Linked DNA regions of Homo sapiens: regions 1 and 3 are each linked to region 2. The links are contacts of gene promoters, found by promoter capture Hi-C in blood cells and fetal thymus (Javierre and others, 2016). All regions are on one chromosome and are shown on one strand. Each heading gives the region's core, a stretch centred on a gene start or on the middle of the fragment in contact. The rest is flanking DNA. Distances are from core to core; before and after follow the strand shown. Region 1 has its middle 15 kb from the start of TINCR. Region 2 holds the start of PLIN3 (perilipin 3). Region 3 overlaps SAFB (scaffold attachment factor B).

Region 1 (4,574 bases), core at 696-3,195, 710 kb after region 2:
TGTGCACTGTTTCCCCAGCAATGGGGACCTTTCCCGGACCACCTGTGAGATCCACCCTGCTGGGTTTCATTTCAGCTGAGTCTGTAAATATTTGGTCTGCTGTGGCCGGCAGCATACACGCAGGGGAAGCTTCAGTGCCTTTTACGAGCTCCCCGCGAGGCCTGATATGCGTTTTCTGTGGCTGGGTACACGGGGCACCCCAGTAGTTTCACAGCTCGTTGGCACGAGGTGGCTATGATTCCAAGACTGGAAGAAGCCGAGAGACACCATCAGTGGCTTCCAGCACTTAACTCCACAGCGTGCAGCATTTGAGAGGCCAAAGAGGGGCCTCTTGTTTTAAAAACTGTAATGCAACATTATAGATTACAGCTGCAGTAGAAATCGAGCCCAGCGATTCCCCTTCCCTAAGTCTATGGGCCACACTTAATTTCTTAAAGGGCAGAGGGGAGGGATTTCTGTTGGGCAAGGAGTGGGAAGCCCTGGTTTAGACCTGTCTCTTGCTAAAAAAATTCAAAGAACCACAACCACTTGCTATGCACCTACTGTATGCCAGATATTGCATAAAGCACTTTTTTATTTTTTTGAGATGGAGTCTCATTCTGTCTCCCAGGCTGGAGTGCAGTGGTGCGATCTTGACTCACTGCAACCTCCGCCTCCCAGGTTCAAGCGATTCTCCTGCCTCAGCCTCCTTAGTAGCTGGGATTACAGGCATGCGCCACCATGCCCAGCTAATTTTCATATTTTTAGTAGAGATGGGGTTTCACCATGTTGGCCAGGCTGGTCTCGAACTCCTGACCTCAGGTGATCTGCCCACCTCACCCTCCCAAAGTGCGGGGACTACTGGCGTGAGCTACCGTGCCCGGCCAAAACCTGCTTTTTTTTTTTTTTTTTATGGAGTCTCGCTCTGTCACACAGGCTGGAGTGCAGTGGTGCGACCTCAGCTCACTGCACCCTCCATCTCTGTGTTCAGGCGATTCTCCTGTCTCAGTCTCCTGAGTAGCTGGGACTACAGGTGCCTACCACCACACCCGGCTAATTTTTGTGTTTTTAGTACAGACGGGGTTTCACCATGTTGGCCAGGCTGGTCTCAAACTCCTGAGCTCAGGTGATCCACCCGCCTCACCCTCCCAAAGTGCTGGGATTACAGGCATGAGCCACCGCGCCCGGCCAAAACCTGTATTTTAAAAGGCTGTGCACTGGGGAGATGCAGATGCCTGCCCCAACGATGCTTATGTGGTGGAGAGTGCCGACAATAAACAATGCTTTAGCGAGTGGTCAGAGCCACGAGGACAGGCAGGTGTGACAAGGCAGAGGGTGATGAGGCGCTGCTGATCCAGTGGTCAGAGGAGACCTCTTGCAGGGGGCAGAATTTGAAGGGGCTGGGCATGTGTGGCTGGTCTCCTCAGTCACAGCCAGTGCCACGCTGTTCTTTTTTGAGACAGCCCTGTCGCCCAGGCTGGAGTGCAGTGGTGTGATCACAGCTCACTGCAGCCTCTGCCTCCTGAGCCCAAGTGATCCTCCCTCCTCAGCCTCGTGGGTAGCTGGGACTACAGGTGTACACCAGCAGCCCAGCCAATTTTATTTTTTTGTACAGATGGGGTCTTGCTACATTACCCACACTGCTCTCAAACTCCTGGGCTCCAGTGATCCTCCCACCTCAGCCTCCCAAAGTGCTGGGATTACAGGCATGAGCCACCGGGCCCTGGTTCACAGACCACCCAGGAAGCTCTCCCAGGAGGGCAATGTCTCGGGTCCTCAGTACCTTATGCTCCACTGAACCCGGCAGCTGCTGTGTCAATATTTGCAGGTGGAGGCAAACACAGGGCAGCTGCATCTCACGAGGATTTGAGGAGTACGGAGAAGCGGCTCTTGGTGCTCCCGGGAGTAATTTAGGGGCAGTTTCTGGCCCAGTATTGCTGTCTCTGGAAGCACTGTAGGACATGTAGAGTTATCCTTGGGGTCAACTCTAAAGGCCAAGCGCATGTGCAAAATTATGTACACACTCACGTACGCAGCTTGCTCACTGGTGCCCCAAACACCTATCCCTTCACCACCGTGTGACCGCGGCACGGGGTGCCCTGACAACCGGGGAGGCTGAGGAGAAGGGACCTCGGGCTGCAGCCTCAGCTCCATGGCTCGCTACCTCTGGGCGGGTCTCAGCCTCCCTCGGGCTCAGAACCTTCTTCTGCGCTTGACTTTCCCAGGAATTGACTCCAGTTTCCCAGGGAGCTGCACTGGGCTATGTCTGGGTTTGGTGATGTTGTGTGGCGTCCGTAGGTGTCCTCATATAAATTGGTGGCTGGCCAGGGGGACTAGAGATGTCTAACTTGCTTGACTGGTAAGCACATCAGGTGCTTCCCAAAGTGGATTCTGTTGTACACCAGGGTGACGGACAAGGATGCCCACGTCCTAATCCCTGGGACCTATGAACACATTGGTCTCCAAGACAAAGGGACCTTGCAGATGTGATTAAGGTGAAGGAATTCGTGGCTGGGTGTGGTGGCTCATGCCTGTCATCCCAGCACTTTGGGAAGCCAAGGCAGGAGAATCACCCGAGGCCACGAGTTTGAGACCAGCTTGGCCAACATGGGGAAACCCCATCTCTACTAAAAATACAAAAACTAGCCAGGCATGGTGGCAGGTACCTGTAATCCCAGCTACTTGGGAGGCTGAAGCAGGAGAATCGCTTGAACCCGGGAAGCGGAGGTTGCAGTGAGCCAAGATTGTGCCACTGCACTCCAGCCTGGGCAACACGGCACGGCTTCATCTCAAAAAACAAAGAGAAAAGCTCTCCTAGTCCACCCAGCTGACCAAAGAAATGGCTGAAGGGCTGAGGTCTGAACCCACCCAGCAGTGAGAGCAGAATCCGAACCCTGATTTGTCACCATCGTATGACCAGGTAGGAACAGCCTCACCTCTCCCGTGGGTCACTGGGACTCAAGGAAGCCCTGCCCCTCAATCCGGCAAACCTGTTAAAAGGCACGGCATCCCCGTTAAACGTCGACTTTATGGTTGTTGGGTTTTTTTGGAATCAAAAGGCCCTGTTCTAACTTTGCCTTTGAAATTATGTGACTAGGAGTCATGCATGCAATTTGAGACTGGCAATCATCGTGGAGGCTTGGGAGTTCCTTGGGAATAAGAAAATCTAACCTAGGAGCTGTTTTGAAATGTAATGAAATCTTTATGAATACAAAATTTAGCAATTGGTGAAGTTGACACATTTTGTAGCTGTGGAGACATTTCGTAAGGTCTTAATTCTACTTTTTCTTTCTTTTTTTTTTTTTTTTGAGATGGAGTTTCGCTCTTTCACCCGGGACTAGAGTGAAGTGGCGCGATCTCGGCTCACTGCAACCTCCGCCCCCCAGGGTTCAAGAAGTCTCCTGCCTCAGCCTCTCGAGTAGCTGGGATTACAGGCACCCACCACCATGCCTGGCTAATATTTGTATTTTTAGTAGAAATGGGGGTTTCCCCATGTTGGCCAGGCTGGTCTCGAACTCCTGACCACAGGTGACCTACCCGCCTCAGCCTCCAGAAGTGCTGGGATTCGAGGCATGAGCCACCGCGCCAGGCCATAAGGTCTTAATTCTGATTCTGCTGTTTTCTTTCTGTATGGCTGGAGCTGGTCATTTCCTCACCGGGACCCCCTCCAGACCTCTGGCATTGCATTTCGCCAGGGCCCCTGTGAAACATGAGCACCCGAGGCTCTATTCCTGTAGGGCTCCCCAGGGCCTGCCAACATGTATTAAGCATTTACTGTATGCCAAGCTTTTTATGTGGATTAACTAATCTTTGTAAAGATCCCATATGGCAACTACAATGATTACTCCCTCCTTCCAGTTAAAGCAGCTAAAGCAGACAGTAATGACCTGCCCGTGGGCAGGCAGGTAGTGAGAAGGCTGGGTGCCAGGCAGTTGGCTCCTAAACTTGCTCTCAAGAAGCTCCCTGTTTCTGCCCCAGTGGCTCTCATTCCCGTGATGCCCCCACAGCTCCCCCTCCCCTTTAAAAATGTCTTTAAAACGATGGGAAATGATACATAACAAAATTCACCACCAAATGGTATACCAAGGCCAGGCATGGTGGCTCATGCCTGTAGACCTAGCAACTTGGGAGGCCAAGGTGGGAGGATGGCTTGAGCTCTGGAGTTCGAGGCTGCAGTGAGCTATGATCGCGCCACTGCATTCCAGCCTGGGAGACACAGCGAGACCCTGTCTCGTAAAAAAGGGGAATTGGAATCTTCATATAGTGCTAGTAGGAATGTATAATGGTACCACCACTGTGGAAAAGTCTGGCTATACTTCCAGAAATAAAACACAGGGAGTTACAAAGTCAGCATAGGACCCAGCAATCCCAGTCCCAGGTATATACACAGGAGAATGGAAAACAGGTGTTCAAACACATACATATCCATAAATGCTCACGGCAGCGTGATTCACACACAACTGCCCAAAGGGGGGAACCACCCACACGTCCATCAGCATCTCCTTTTCATAACACGTATTTTGTTCCACCCACCTTTTCTCTCTTGAAATAAAAGTTGAGTTAATATAACGTACCTATGCTCAATTATTAAAGAA
Region 2 (4,443 bases), core at 1,234-3,733:
TCCATCTCAAAGAAAAAAGAAAAAGCCAGGCATGGTAGCTCACGCCTGTAATCCCAGCACTTTGGGAGGCTGAGGCGGGCAGATCACCTAAGGTCGGGAGTTTGAGACCAGCCTGACCAACATGGTGAAACCCCATCTCTACTAAAAATACAAAAATTAGCCGTGTATTTTGGCTGACACCTGTAGTCCCAGCTACACAGGAGGCTGAGGCAGGAGAATTGCTTGAACCTGGGAGGTGGAGGTTGCAGTGAGTCGAGATCGCACCACTGCACTCCAGCCCGGGTGACAGAGGGAGACTCCGTTTCAAAAAAAAAAAAACATGGGGCTAAAGGTCATGCCTGTCTTATGGGCTGCTTTCCTGGGGAATTCTGGTGTGAGCCTAAGAACCTGTGGCCTTGAGTCTGAGCATCTTTTCCCAGAGGAATGAGGCCCCACCTCCTGGTGGCCTTGCTTCGATGTCCCCTAAGCAGAACCCAGCAAAATGATGATGTTTTGCAAGCACTAGATCTGGAGTCCAGATTGGGTTCTTTCCATTTTTTTTTTTTTGTTTTTTTTTTTGAGACGGAGTCTCGCCCTGTCGCCCACGCTGGAGTGCAGTGGCGCGATCTCAGCTCACTGCAAGCTCTGCCTCCCCGGTTCACGCCATTCTCCTGCCTCAGCCTCCCGAGTAGCTGGGACCACAGGCGCCCGCCACCACGCCTGGCTAATTGTTTGTATTTTTAGTAGAGATGGGATTTCACCATGTTAGCCAGGATCGTCTCGATCTCCTGACCTCATGATCCGCCCGCCTCGGCCTCCGAAAATGCTGGGATTACAGGCGTGAGCCACCATGCCCGGCCTTTTTTTTTTTTTGAGACAGAGTCTTGCTCTGTCGCCCAGGCTGGAATGCAGTGGCGTGATCTCAGTTCAGTGTAACCTCCATCTCCCAGGTTCAAGCGATTCTCCTGCCTCAGCCTCCAGAGTATCTGGGAATACAGGTGCCCGCCACCACGTCCGGCTAATTTTTATATTTTTAGTAGAGGTGGGGTTTCACCATGTTGGCCAGGCTGTTCTCCAACTCCTGACCTCAAATGATCCGCCCACCTCAGCCTCCCAAAGTGCTGGGATTATAGGCGTGAGTCATCCTGCCCAGCCCAGAATGGGTTCTAATCCCAGCTTGGCAACTCACTAGGAATAGGAGTTTGGGAAGGCAGCATCCCCTAGGAGTCTTGCTTGCCACATCTGTGAAATGTGTATAAGTGTTTCACAAGAGCCTGGAGTCCCTGTGGACTGGAGGAGACGCTGCTCCGGGGAAGCTCAGATCCGTGCCCGGCACATAGTAAGTGCTCCATAAACTATCTCACCGCACTCTGGCTTCCACGGACAAAGGGGTAAAGCCAGCCAGGAACCAGCTTCCTGCTAGGTACAAAAGTCCCCCAACTGGGAAGTCAGGTGAGAAGACATACCTACCTCCCAGTGATCATTGCCTAAATCTGTGCTTCTCCTCACCTCCTTTGGAGCCTGAGCTCACCTGGGCAGGGGGCCAGGTAGGCAGGCATCAAACTCCTGGCCTCGACCGATTCTCAAGTCCCACTTAGGACTCAGGCAGCTTCCTCCCGTCCCCTCTGTCCACCATGACTTCCTGGAACTGGTTTAAGCAAGGGTGGCCATGGCAGATGTCAACACCCTATGAAACCCCTGGGGGTCAGTGACCTGCCTTGCCGCTGGCTCCAGAAGGGGAGCTCCAGGCCAGACCCAGCCATCCAGCAACTTCAGAGCATGCTAAGACTGGACTTCCAAAATTCCAAGGGCCCCAGGTCCCACTGCCAGGCCTAGCCGGGACAAGAACCCCAAAGCAGTTAACGGATAGGCCTTCCTACTTTTAAGCCACCTCGTCGCCACGCCCACCCGAGGGAAGTGGGCAGGCTTTGCCCAAGACCTCCCCAGAATCAGTTGGGGGCGCCAGGAGCTGGGGCAACCCCCACCCCCACCCGTGGCAAAACCATCTGTAGGGGAGGGGGCTTTGCGGTGGCGGGGGGTGTCTCTGAAAACCCCAGAAGGGAGGGCGGAGATTCTGCCCGCAGGAGGAAACTTGCCTGCAAATGGCGTTTCCAAAAGCAAACTGTTCAAAATTTAGAGAAAACCTGGTGGGCGGGGGGCGGTATTTAGCCCACCCCCTTCAATATCACCCCTTCTACGGGGCTCTTTCGCCCCTCAAAAGTCCCAGGAAGTGAGAAGAGGGTTTCAAAGTCTGAGCTTCGTTGCAGAAGTTGGATTTTTCTGGGGGGAGGGGTGACCAGCCTGGGCTGAAGACCCCTCCCCAGGCCGCAGAGTCCAGCAAATCCCACCCCGAGAAAGGCCCTCCCCGACCCCTCCGGCCCCTGGGGTGCCCCAGGACTCCATGGACACCGCCCCCCAGCTCAACTGAGACGCCCCCGCCACTCACCGCGGTCAACCGGACGTCCCAGGAACAGCTGCCGCGACTTCAAAACCAGCTTGGAAACCGTCCGGGCCGAGGCGGGGGTGGCTTTTACTGCGTGGTAGGTTGGGGGCGCACTGGAGTGACGGGCGAGGGGACCAATCAGGTTGAGGGATTGCCCGCGCCAGGCCCGCCCCTCTCCTCCCTGCCCCGCCTCCACTAGGCCCCGCCCCTCGCCAAGTCATGAAGTCCGGGAAGGACTCCACGCCCTGCCCCTGAAGGGGAGGGAGCACTCTTGGACCACGCCTGTCCCAGCCACGGGACCCCCGCTCCGCAGCTGGGGACCCTGTGAAGTTGGCCCTGGGAGGTGAGTGCGATCGGGGGCGCCGCACAGGTGCTGGGATTCCCCAGGTCGCCCATTTCCCCTATGGCCAAACTGAGGCTGCGAGAACCCTGGGAGAGTTGCAGGGTGACCCTCGCCAGCGCGTCAGGGGCCACGCCCTCCACCATGGGCTCCGACTCAGCTATATGTACACACACACACACACACACACACACACACTTTTTTTTTTTTTTTGAGACACAGTCTCGCTCTGTCGCTAAGGCTGGAGTGCAGTGACGCGACCTTGGCTCACTGCAGCCTCCACCTCCTGGATTCAAGCGATTCTCCTGCCTCAGCCTCCTGAGTAGCTGGGATTACAGACACGTGCCACCACGCCCGGCTAATTTTTTGTATTTTTAGCAGAGACGGGGTTTCACCATGTTGGTCTTGAACTCCTGACCTCAAGTGATCTGCCCGCTTGGGCCTCCCAAATTGCTGGGATCACAGGTATGAGCCACCGCACCCGGCCCAACCCAGCTATATGAGTGACTTGAACCACCACGGGAACTTGTCCAGCCTCCGGCCTGATCTGCCCAACATCAGACCACTTCATCCTCCCAGCACTGTATTGTCTTTTTAATCATCCCTATTTTGCAGAGAAGGAAACTGAGGCCTGGAGAGGGTCAGCCAGGGGCAATGGAGGGGTCAGGCTCCAGGCTCTGTGACTGCTGGATCAACCTTTTCCTGAAGCTGCCCCCACTTGGATTTTACCCCGCCCCTCTCCACCTCCCAAATTATTTATCCTCTTGGTCTATAAACCAAGGTCTCAATCTCAGATGGTCCAGGGAGGAGGTGAATATTTCTGCTGAGGAGGTGGCAGTGATGCCCTGCTTAGAGGGGCAGGGGAGAGCAGTGCCCTATGGGAGACCCACCTGGAGAGTCACAGATCCACAGGAAGTTCAAGCTGTAGACATGTCCTGCCTGTTAGGGAACAATTGGACCAAATGAAACCCAACTGGGGCTTTGTCCAGCCCAGGGGCCACCAGTTTGCCACCTCTGCCAAATTATTTGAATAGAATGAAGCTTCTGGTAGCTTTAGAAAGAACATGGGAAAAATTGGGTGTCTGTGACTGCATTTTTTTGGGGGGGTGAGTGGGGACAGGGTCTATGCTAGCACTGTCCAATAGAACTTTCTGCAATTCTAGAATTGTGTGCCATCCAACATTGTAGCCAAAAGCACCACGTGGCTAATGCACAGTGAGAAGCTGAATGTTTAAATTTTTTTTTTTTTTTTGAGGCAGAGTCTCGCTCTGTCTCCCAGGCTGGAGTGCAATGGCGCGATCTCGACTCACTACAACCTCCACCTCCCGGGTTCAAGCGGTTCTCCTGCCTCAGCCTCCCAAGTAGCTGGGATTACAGGCGCGCGCCACCACACCCAGCTAATTTTTGTATTTTTAGTAGAGACGAGGACTAACCATATTGGCCAGGCTGGTCTCGAACTCCTGGCCTCAAGTGATCCACCTGCCTCGGCCTCCTAAAGTGCTGGGATTACAGGTGTGAGCTACCGCGCTTGGCCTGAATGTTTAAATTTAAGTAACTTCAGGCAGCTAGTGAGATTCTCAAGTGAATCTGAGACCCCATTCCATGACATTTGTAACAGGCTTTTTCCTTCTCATTCACTCATTCAACCATATTTATTGAGTCCTTGCGCTGGGGACAGCGG
Region 3 (4,444 bases), core at 271-2,770, 760 kb after region 2:
GGGCATAGGAGACCTTGAACCCCTTCTGAGTCCTCTTTTCTATTCTTTTTTTTTTTTTTTCTCCTGTAAGAAGCAAAAAAGCAATAGGACTTTGATTTGGGGATTAAATAAGTTTGCGTGGAGCAGGCTTGGCGTGCTGCCTGGCGCATGTAAACACTCGGTGTGTGGTTGCCATCACGATTCGCTTTTCCTCTCTGTGCCACCACGAGTCCTCATTTGCAGATCGGGGGCTCTAACGCCTCCCTTGGGGGATTCAAAGGGATCCCTAGGAAAAGCAGAGAGGCAAGTAAAGGTTAGCCACCTGCGGTTTCCTTATTCCTGTAGCTTTTTTTCTCTGCCTTTTTTCCACCTGGCTACTCTGGGACCTCTCCCCTGTAGTTGCTCCGCCTGGCCGCCCACCCCCCAGCCCCTGCAGGCAGTGGGGCTGTTGACACATCCCACCATCCTGACTCCGGAACTACGGAGATCACAGGGCTTTATTATTAATTGGTGATGAGAAGAAGTAGGGATTTTTTTTTTTTTTTTTTTCCTGATGAGAAACCCTGGGCTCAAGGGTGGATAGTTGTCTCGGCCAGAGTCACATGGGCCTTTTAAAAGCTCAAGCTTGTGTTTCTTTTCACTATGGATTCTCTTTACTCAGATAAGGCAGGAAGCCCACTGATCTACATATTTACCCAGAGAAAATGCAGAGAGTGGAGATTGGCGGCTGGTCAGGTGTGGTGCCCCGCCACCAGGGCCTCCCATCAGCTAAGCCAAATTAAGAGGCTTTATCCTTTTTTTCTCCCTGGACGGTCCATAGGCCTGAAAAGCTGCTGTGATCTTCCTGTCAAGCTGGTGACTGAGACTTCCCATCACTCGCTGTCATCTCTGAGAGCACAGATTTGTTCCTTCTTCCTTCTCCTTTTCATTTTCTTCAAGATGTGGTCCCAAAACACGAATACCGCCAGCCCATATCCCTGTCTGCCACTCACCCAAGCCAGTCTGGAGTTCCTGATCTCATTCTCTTCCCGTTTCTGTCATCCTGTTGGTGTCCCTTTCTTGGTTTATTTTTCCAGGAAGGGCAAAAGAACAAAAAGGGGAAACAGGACACCTGCCTAGGGCATTGCTTCTCTTCTCCTGGTGGTGTTTCAGAATTGCCTGTCCCCGGGAAAAGGGTGAGGGACTTGGTGATTGTACTTTTCCTTGATCCCAGGAAAGAACTTCAGTCCCTTTTCTGGCTTCTGAGAGGAGAGATTTTTGTTGCTGCTGGTAAAGATGAGATGTGGAACCCCCAGGCCCTATCTCAATTCAGACTTACCCACCTGGGAAACTTGGAGGCTTCCAAACCTCTGCAGATAAAACATAGTACATGAAATGATGTAAACAAAACTTGTGCTCATGGGACTGGAGAGTAAAGACTGGAAAAGTTATCAGTAAAACTTGACCTGAAGCTAAGTTTCTAGGGACGTCATCGTGATTGACGTGTTCGGTACTGATGGCTTAGTTGATGCCAGGCACTGTGCTGAGGATGGGCATAGTTGAAGTGAGTGACAGAGTCCTGGGGTGGGAGGCTGGGCGTGCCAAGAAATTCTTATAATTCAATATCCGATGAGGCACAATCACCTAGTGGTTGAGAATGAGGTACTGGAGTCGGTTGTGAATGTACATGATGGGGATCGGATGAGGTCATGCATGTCGTGACGGGTCTCGTGCGTAACACATAGTAGGATCCCAGTCAGCGAGCATTAGTATTCTGTCCACACAGTACTGAGTACAGGCACGGCGTGGAGGGAGTCCCTGGAGGGTTAAAGAGTATTTTGTGAGTAAAGTCAGGGGAAATGGAGAGTGTGCCTTTCCCTTTTTGAGTTCTTCTGGGCTTAGGAAGGAGATGAACCAGATAAGCCTACTGTTTGTTGAGTGCTTCCTTTTCATGGCTAGTAGAGTCCTCACAACAGCCTTCCAGGGTAAGTACTGTATTATTATTAGCCGCATGTTCCAGAGGAAGAAGCAAAAACTGAGCACCTAAGTAAACCTGCCTGGGACCACCCAGCTAAGAACTGGTGGCGTCAGTCGGTCTCCAGTGTAGAGCGAGATAACAGATGAGTGGATGGGCCACAGGTCCTGGGTGGTGAGGGCGGCAGCAGCTTTTTGATCTTAAAAATACAGTTTCCTTGTCACCTGAGAGCTCTCTGAAAGCAGTGTGTGAGCTGACTTTTTGGATCAACTTTACTTTTCCCTTCTTTTTAGGCAATTGAAGATGAAGGTGGTAATCCTGACGAAATTGAAATTACCTCCGAGGGAAACAAGAAAACATCAAAGAGGTCTAGCAAAGGTATGGAGGATTTCATAAGCAAGTTTCATGTTAAGTGCTTTCTTCAAAACGAATACATTGCTAATGTGCCTCGTTTACTTGTCTGTGTGTTGGACTTGTGAACCACTCTGAACTGGGAGCCTTCAGCGAAGCTTTGCATTTTCTTTCAAGATCTCTCTACTGTGTTTTGTTTTCTTGGTATCTGGGAATTCCAATGGAGGATGGAAGGAGTATTTGTCCTTTATTCATTTTCCTCTGTAGATTGTCAGCGGTCCTTAAATAAGGAGTCTTTTGGGAGTCAGTCACAGTGGCGTGTGCCTGTAATTCCAGGCGACTCGGGGCTGTGGTAGGAGGATCACATGAGCCTGGGAGTTCAAGACCAGCCTGGGCAACATAGCAAAACCCAGCTCTACAAAAAAACTTTTAAAGGCCCGGTGTGGTGGCATGCATCTGTGGTCCCAGCTGCTTGGGAGGCTGAACCGGAAGGATTACTTGACCCCAGGAGGTTGAGATCAGCTTGGGCAACATAGGGAGACCCCCATCCCCACCAAAAAGAAATTAGCCAGGCATGATGGCATGCACCTGTGATCCCAGCTACTTGGGAGTTTTAGGAGGGGGATCACTTGAGCCCAGGAGCTCAAGCCTGCAATGACCTAATGATTGCACCACTGCACTCCAGCCTGGGTGACAGAGCAAGACCCAGTCTCTCTTAAAAAAAAGGGGGGTGGGGGCGGGGCACAGTGTCTCTCACCTGTAATCCCAACACTTTGGGAACCCAAGGCAGGAGAATGGTTTCAGTCTAGGAGTTTGAGACCAGCCTGGGCTGCCTCTATCCACTGCCAAAAAAAAAAAGTACCTAGGCGTCGAGGCACGCCTGTTTTCCTAGCTACTTGGGAGGCTAAGGCGGGAGGATCATTTGAACCCAGGAGTTCAGGGTTGCACTGAGCTATCATGGCACCACTGAACTCCAACATGGAGTCCAAAAAGTAGGACTGCCTGAGCCTCCTATTGCTTGGACTTGGAGAAAATAACATCCCTTATAAACAGCACTTGGCAAAAACAGAATTGTCACTTTAACATTTCTTTTAAAAGCAGCTTATACAGTAAAAGTCACATTCCACATGACATGACTCTCACCATCTTACCGAAATCTCTCTTGCCCATCCCCCACACCCTGTGCTTTAGTCAGGCCCCAAACACGTGATTTACTCTCCTGGTTCTCTGTGACTTCGCTCCGCCCACCCTTCCCCATCTGTCTGCCTTAGAGACCTAGTTCCTCAAAAGACAACTGATCCATCCCACCAATAGCAACTCGTCTCCTTGGGTCCTCTGTCCTCCCGTGGCATAGTTCCTTACCCCTTGGTTTAATATTTATGTCATCTTGCCTTCTGTCAAGAGCAGATTGATGAGGACTAGGGCTGTGTCTTGTTTATCTTTCTTTCCCCTTCAATGGTTTAACTTGGTAACACTCAACTATTGGCTTAAGAAAGAATCAGCTGAGGCAGGGCGCCGTGGCTCACACCTGTAATGCCAGCACTTTGGGAGGTTGAGGCGGACTGGTCACCTGAGGTCAGGAGTTCGAGACCAGCCTGGCCAACATGATGAAACCCCGTCTCTACTAAAAATATAAAAATTAGCCAGGTGTGGTGGCGGGCTCCTGTAATCCCAGCTACTCAGGAGGCTGAGGCAGGAGAATTGCCTGAACCCAGGAGGTGGAGGTTGCACTGAGCCCAGATCGCACCACTGCACTCCAGCCTGGGCGACCGCAAGACTCCATCCCCCTAAAAAAAAGAATCAGCTGAAGCTGGGCTTGTAGACCGAATGTTCTCTTGGTTCATGTAGAGTTTTCCCTATCTGAAATGCTTGGGACCAGAAGGGTTTCATTTTTTGGATTTTGTGCGGTATTTTCGTACGCATAATGAGATAATCTTGGGATTGGGGCCCAAATCTAAACAAGAAATTTGTTTCTTATACACCTGAAGATAATTTAATACCATATTTTTTATAATTTTGTGCATGAAACAAAACTTTCACTAATTCCACACATCAGGTGTGGAATTTTCTACTTGTGGCAATATGTCAGTGCTCAGAAGGTTTCAGTTTCAGATAGGGTTGCCCAACCTGTAATTGAAGGCCTGGTTCTCAGGGCCCAAA

Evidence for each region. The method cuts DNA at HindIII sites, captures the fragments that hold promoters and counts their contacts. A CHiCAGO score of 5 or more calls a contact.
Region 1: a fragment that was not itself captured here is called in contact with the fragment with the promoter of PLIN3 in region 2 in 1 of 17 cell types (naive B cells); the score reaches 6.1 in naive B cells.
Region 3: a fragment that was not itself captured here is called in contact with the fragment with the promoter of PLIN3 in region 2 in 4 of 17 cell types (M1 macrophages, naive B cells, M0 macrophages and 1 more); the score reaches 6.4 in M1 macrophages.

What each region holds. Positions count from the first base shown.
Region 1 is chr19:5,580,300-5,584,873 of GRCh38, forward strand. No RefSeq gene overlaps it. Among named protein-coding and RNA genes, the nearest start is that of TINCR, 15 kb to the left of the region's middle. The HindIII fragment of the contact is 3,636 bases long and covers 128-3,763 here.
Region 2 is chr19:4,865,184-4,869,626 of GRCh38, forward strand. It overlaps PLIN3 (perilipin 3), which reads right to left and starts at 2,484. Exons shown (of 8, transcript NM_005817.5): 1 at 2,426-2,484. RefSeq lists enhancers at 1,452-1,801, 1,744-2,244 and a silencer at 2,462-2,641. The HindIII fragment of the contact is 7,389 bases long and covers 1-3,801 here.
Region 3 is chr19:5,624,179-5,628,622 of GRCh38, forward strand. SAFB (scaffold attachment factor B) reads left to right here. Exons shown (of 21, transcript NM_001201338.2): 2 at 2,227-2,311. Among named protein-coding and RNA genes, the nearest start is that of SAFB, 3.3 kb to the left of the region's middle. RefSeq lists an enhancer at 1-67. The HindIII fragment of the contact is 1,839 bases long and covers 602-2,440 here.